2 separate regions of the Homo sapiens genome follow, and region 1 is linked to region 2. Evidence: promoter capture Hi-C in human tissues and cell types (Jung and others, 2019). All regions are on one chromosome and are shown on one strand. The core of a region is centred on a gene start or on the middle of the fragment in contact, and the rest is flanking DNA. Distances in the headings are between cores, read along the strand shown. Region 1 has its middle 6.5 kb from the start of RFC1. Region 2 holds the start of KLB (klotho beta).

Region 1 (3,406 bases), core at 461-2,960, 34 kb after region 2:
AGTTTATACGGAGTAGTGTATATTAGACGTTTTAAAATTTTACAAATACATCCGGTGTGGTGGCTCACGCCTGTAATCCCAGCACTCTGGAGGGCAGAGTTGGGCGGGTTGTTTGAGGTCAGGAGTTCCAGACTAGCCTAGCCAACATGGTGAAACCCCATCTCTTCAAACCATACAAAAGTTAACTGGGAGTGGTGGCGTGCATCTGTAGTCCCAGGTATTTGGGAGGCTGAGGCACAAGAATCACTTGAATCACTTGCACCTGGGAGGTGGAGGTTGCAGTGAGCCCAGACCGCACTATTGCACTCCAGCCTCGGCGACAGAGAGAGACTGTCTCAAATAAATAAATTAATTAATAAAATTTTACAAATAAACACAGATTAAAGTAGGAAAGGCATAAAAAAGGAATCCCAATACATTCACATCTTCTATAAAATATACGGCAAAAATCTTACTCAGATAAAATCTGGTTCATGACCACAACAGGATATAAACAATACTTTTAACATATCCATTTAAATTGTTAGTTGCTATGAAGAGAGCTAACTTTGTTTTAGTACAAATAAGGTAAGTGCTTTGGACTCTACATTTTAAAATATTACACCTGCGTTGATGGCTTCATATAACTATTAACATTAGCTCTGGATGGTGGTGCTTCATATAAATATTATCATTAGCTCTGGATGGTGGTAAGCACTTGATAAAGTAAATACAGTTTATCACTAATACCTGAGATTCTCTAGACATTTTTTTTTGAGACAGAGTTTTGCTCTTGTTGTCCAGGTTGGAGTGCAGTGGAGCAATCTTGGCTCACTGCAACCTCCGCTTCCCGGGTTCAAGCAATTCTCCTGCGTCAGCCTCCTGAGTAGCTGGGATTACAGGCATGCGCCACCACGCCCAGCTAATTTTGTATTTTTAGTAGAGATGGGGTTTCTCCATGTTGGTCAGGCTGGTCTTGAACTCCCGACCTCAGGTGATCTGCCTGCCTTGGCCTCCCAAAGTGCTGGGATTACAGGTGTGAGCCACTGCACCCAGCCGATTCTCTAGACATTTGTAAGAAAATGTTTTAGTTTAAGAGTGTGTGCCAGGCGTGGTGGCTCACGCCTGTAATCCTAACAGTTTGGGAGGCCGAGGCGGGTGGATCAGTTGAGATCAGGAGTTTGAGACCAGCCTGGCCAACATGGTGAAACTGTGGCTCTACAACAGAGACAGGGCAATAGAGCGAGACTCCATCTCAAAAAAAAAAAAAAAACAAAAACGAAGTGTGATTAGCAAAACTATAAATTGAAACTCACTACTATAGTTGAATTTCACCTCTTTTCCGTTCTCTCACTGATTGACTTTAAGTGCCAAGAATGATTATTAAAATTGCATAAAATGAAGACAAAGAGTAGTTCAGTTGTCAGCAAATCTCTACACATTAAAGAAATATTTTTCTTAGCGATTGCTCTAAGAAATATATATACATAAAATATATATGTATAATAGGATATCTCCTATTTAGAAGTCGTCATAGTTTCCTCATTCATACACCCTGCATTATAGATTGTGTAGAATTTAAATACTGCTATTCATATTTCCACTGGAGGCCGGGCACAGTGGCTCCTGCCTGTAATCCCCGCACTTTGGGAGGCCAAGGTGGGAGGACTGCTTGAGGCCAGGAGTTTGAGCCCAGCCTGGGCAACAGAGCAAGATCCCGTCTCTACAAAAATAAAATAAAATAAAGTAAAAAATAAAATAAAGTTCCACTGGAGTCAAAAGTTCTGAAAATTATAGGTGAATATGTAATTATAAATAGAAATAATTGAACAAGTAATAGACTTAAACTAAAAGAAATTTTGTATTAATGGCAACTACTGATAACTTTATGACATACTAAAATTATTTCTCTATCAGCTAAATGCAACCTATGCCATTGTTACCTGCTTCATAGAGATACAGATGTTATTTTTTGTGTGTGTGCAGTGTAAATATTTTATCCTCATTTCATTCATAAAATTCACTGAGGTAGGGAAAGCTTTTACTGATCTTTCCATTCAGCCTGAACAGCCAGCAAAATATATTGCATATGGAATAGATGCTTCTTTTGCTCAATGGTATATGTATTAGCCCATTTTCACACTGCTCATAAAGACATACCCAAGACTGGGCAATTTACAAAAGAAATAAATTTATTGGACTTGCAGTTCCACATGGCTGGGGAGGCCTCACAATCACGGTGGAAGGCAAGGAGGAGTAAGTCACAACTTACATGGATGGCAGCAGGCAAAGAGAGAGAGTATGTGCAGAGAAACTCACATTTTTAAAACCATCAGATGTTGTGAGACCCATTCACTATTACGAGAACAGCATGGGAAAGACCTGCCCCATGATTCAATCATCTCGCACTGGGTCCCTCCCACAACATGTGAGAATTATGGGAGCTACAAGATGAGATTTGGGTGGGAACACAGAGCCAAACCATATCATTCCATCCCTGGTCCCTCCCAAATCTCATATCTTCACATTTCAAAACCAATCATGCCTTTCCAGCAGTCCCCCAAAGTCTTAACTCATTTCAGCATTAACTCAAAAGTCTACAGTCTAAAGTCTCATCCAAGACAAGGCAAGTCCCTTCTGCCTATGAGCCTGTAAAATCAAGAGCAAGTTAGTGACTTCCTAGATACAATGGGGGTACAGGCATTGGGTAAATACAGCCATTCCAAATTGGAGAAATTGGCCAAAACAAAGGGGCTACACGCCCCATGCAAGTCTGAAATCCAGCAGGGCAGTCGAATCTTAAAGCTCCAAAATGATCTCCTTTGACTCCATGTCTCACATCCAGGTATGCTGATTCAAGAGGTGGGTTCCCATGGTCTTGGGCAGCTCCACCCCTGTGGCTTTGCAGGGTACAGCTTCCCTCCCAGTTGCTTTCATGGGCTGATGTTGAGTGTCTGCGGCTTTTCCAGGTGCATGGTGCAAGCTGTCAGTGGATCTACCATTCTGGGGTCTGGAGGACGGTGGCCCTCTTCTCACAGCTCCACTAGGCAGCGCCCCAGTGGGGACTCTGTGTGGGGGCTCTGATCCCACATTTCACTTCAGCACTACCCTAGCAGAGGTTCTCCATGAGGGCTCCGCCCCTACAGCAAACTTCTGCCTGGGCATCCAGGCATTTCCATACATCTTCAGAAATCTAGGCAGAGGTTCCCAAACCTCAATTCTTGACTTCTGTGCACTTGCAGGCTCAATGCTACGTGGAAGCTGCCAAGACTTGAGGCTTGCACCCTCTGAAGCCACAGCCCAAGCTCTACATTGGCCCCTTTCAGCCACGGCTGGAGTGGCTGGGACATAGGGCACCAAGTCCCTAGGCTGCACACAGCACGGGGACCCTGGGCCTGGCTCATGAAACCACTTTTTCCTCCCTGGG
Region 2 (3,408 bases), core at 410-2,909:
ATGGGAAGAATAATAAAACTAGTTCAAAAGGCTGTTAAGAGGATCAACTGTAACGATGCATGTAAAATACTTAATGTAGTCTGTGGTACATAATAAGTACTCAGTAATTATTACCTATTATTTTGCTTGTATTTTCACTATTGTTTTACTAATTTTAACATTTCTCAACATTATCTCTAGCTTTTGAAATATATTGCTTGAAAATTGCTTTAGTAGAGCACATTCTTCCCAGTTCTTATGGGAAGAAATGTGTTTAGCTCCCATAACAATTAATCTTCTCTTTTTTGCTATGTAACACAAATAAAATCAAAAGTGAAGTATATTTAAATTTCTGTATTTAATATGCATGAGTTAGCTAACATTTATTTGGCTTACTTATTTACTTACTTTATTTACTTATTAGCTAAGTTAGCTATACTTAACAACAAATACATATTTGAAATGGTTGTGCCTTAAGATAATTCTGAAATGATTGCATGTTGTCAGAAAAGGGTTCCAACAATTAAATTTATGAAGCACTGTTTTCCCACAGAATGAAAGTAAGCTCATATATTCACACTGTAGTGTATAATGGTAGATTTAAAAATAGCCTCAAAGTGCAACTTTTGAAAAAACTAATTGGATTAATACATTAAAAATACCTTAGATAAATAAAACATACACTAACTTAAATGCAAAATTTGAGGATAGATCTTTTGAATTAGCTTAAAATCAGTTGCCTTGATTTCAGTGAAGAGAATTACTGAGGCAGAAGGTAAATTCTTAAATTCTTAGTGTTTTCTGAAGCTATAAGAAGAAGCTAGCTGTACAGTACCTTGATCAAGTTGTGTCCCACAGTGTAGACAGCTGCTAAATTTCCCTTCTCTCCAGGGGCATGCATACCTGTCCCATACCCATGCCAAGCCACTAGATATGGGTTGTGAATTGTAATCCAATATTTGACACGGTCCCCAAACATCTGGAAACAGTATGTGGCATAGTCATTGAAGATATCTATTATGGTATCATTTTTCCACCCCCCATATTTTTCTTGTAGTGCCAAAGGCAAATCCCAGTGGTATAAAGTAACTATAGGTTCAATGTTTCTAAGCACTAGAGCGTCCAGAAGAGTACTGTAGTACTGCAGACCTTTTGCGTTGGCAACTGTTACTATTCCATCGGGGAAAAGCCTTGGCCAGGAAATTGAAAATTGATAAAAAGAAACTCCTATAAAATCCAGGGCTGATAAGTCTTTTTCCAGAAAAATATAACTGTCACTGGAACCATTCGTGCTGCTGACATTTTTAAGGTGTGTGTGGATGAAATGATCCCATATAGAAGGTCCTTTTCCATCCTTCTTCCAACTCCCTTCCACTTGCAATGCTCCAGTCCCAATACCCCAGAAAAAGTTTTTAGGGAAAGTGTCATAGAGAAACAGCTGACTTTCATTTACCGGAGTAAAATTAGGATTTTTAGACCATATAGCTCTTCCATCTCCAGAGAATCCAGTAACAGCTCGTAGCAGAATAAGTGCTGACAGGATGACAGATCTTTGCAATCCCCCGTTGGACATTGTATTCCTATAGCGTGTGGTTATTTCATCAGTGCTGAAGAAAATCCATTCATTCCCTGGAGATCCTGCCGCACAGCCTGGCTTCATTTGCCACCAACTGCTGGACTGTCTTATCAAAGCTTCAGTAAAAGCTTGTGATTGTAAAGCTCTGTCAATGATTAGCTTGAACTGGGAGACTGAGGATGGGTCATAGAGAGCAACGTAATTTGAGGGAGGTGGCCCTATTGCAGTCACCAACGCGTCTCCTTCTCTCTCATTATGGAAAAAATTAGATGAAAATGCATCGGTGACAAGAGTTTGAATGTGTAACTAACACATATGTAAACACTGGATTAAAATCACATTATTTTCCGTGTAGCCTTTCATATTGACCCAAATCTTTTCTGAATGTTTTGAACATTATTGAATAAGGTATATAGCTTTTCTATTTTTAGAGTTTTTGTGTGGTAATTTTATAATCTCATATATCAAGAAAAATAACATATACAAGTATATAGCATTCCTACATACCAATAGTAAAGAATTAGAAAACACAATAAGAAATTACACTTCTCCACAAAATTATAACGCATCTAAGAACAATCTTAATAAATGTTACCTATTTTAGGAAAATTGCAAAAATGTATTGGTAGATTTGAGAGAAGACTTGAATGAGAAAATATAGCACTTTGTGGATGGAAAAATGAAATACTTTTCAATTTAATACATTTAACTTAACTAAAATCCTCTAATCTCTAATTTTATTTTTTATTTTATTTATTTAACTTAACTAAAATTCTCTAATCTCTAATTTTTTAATTAATTAATTAATTTTTAATAAGAGTCTTGCTTTGTAGCCTAGGCTGGAGTGCAGTGGTGTCATCACAGCTCACCGCAGCCTCAACTTCCCAGGCTTAAGCAATCCTCCCTCCTCAGCCTCCAAGTAGCTGGGACAACAGGCACATGCCACCATGCCCAGCTGATTTTTGATTTTTTGGTAGAGGTGGGGTCTAGCTATGTCCCCCAGGCTGGTCCTGAACTCCTGGGCTCAAACAGCCCTTCTGCCTCGGCCTCCTAAAGTGCTTGGGATTATAGGTGTGAGCCACCATGCCTGGCCTAATCCCAAATTTTAGTTCAAGAAAATTATTACGAAAGGCCAGGCACAGTGATTCATGGCTATAATCCCACCACTTTGGGAGGCCAAGGCAGGCAGATCACTTGGGGTCAGGAGTTTGAGACCAGCCTAGCCAACATGTTGAAACCCCGTCTCTATTAAAAATACAATTAGCTGGGCACGGTGGTGGGCACCTGTAATCCCAGCTACCTGGGAGGCTGAGGCAGGAGAATCTCTTGAACCTGGGACGTGGAGGTTGTAGTGAGCTGAGATCGCACCACCGCACTCCAGCCTGGGCAACAGAGCAAGACTCGGTCTCAAAATAAAAAAAAAAAAAAAAAGAGAAAATTATTATGAAAGTTCCCTTGAAGAATAGGCAATATTTATTTTTAAAAAGGAAAGAAAAACCTGAAAAAGAAAATAGCAAAGGCATAGACTACCTTCAGCATGATTCTGGAATAAAGATAAACATACAGAAAGAAATACATGCACATACAGAAAGAAATATTGTACCAAATCGATAGCCTCCAAATAACCTGTAAAAAATTTAATGTTTTACAGCCTGGGGAACATAATAAGGCCCCATCTCTACAAAAAAAATTAAAAACTAACCGGGTGTGGTTGTGCATGCCTGTAGTCCCAGCACTTTAGAAGGCCAAGGTGGGAGGATTGCTTTGAGCCCAAGAGGTCAAGACTGTAGTGAGCCATGATTGCACCACTGCACTCCAGCCTGGGTGACAGAATGAGACTCTGTCTCAAAAAA

What was found. The method cuts DNA at HindIII sites, captures the fragments that hold promoters and counts their contacts. A contact is called where the count stands out against the background at its distance.
Region 1: a fragment that was not itself captured here is called in contact with the fragment with the promoter of KLB in region 2 in 2 of the 25 tissues and cell types used here (spleen and stomach).

Annotation. Positions count from the first base shown.
Region 1 is chr4:39,371,128-39,374,533 of GRCh38, reverse strand. No RefSeq gene overlaps it. Among named protein-coding and RNA genes, the nearest start is that of RFC1, 6.5 kb to the right of the region's middle. The HindIII fragment of the contact is 4,681 bases long and covers 1-3,406 here.
Region 2 is chr4:39,405,181-39,408,588 of GRCh38, reverse strand. KLB (klotho beta) reads right to left here and starts at 1,659. Exons shown (of 5, transcript NM_175737.4): 1 at 815-1,659. The coding sequence starts at 1,639. The HindIII fragment of the contact is 19,436 bases long and covers 826-3,408 here.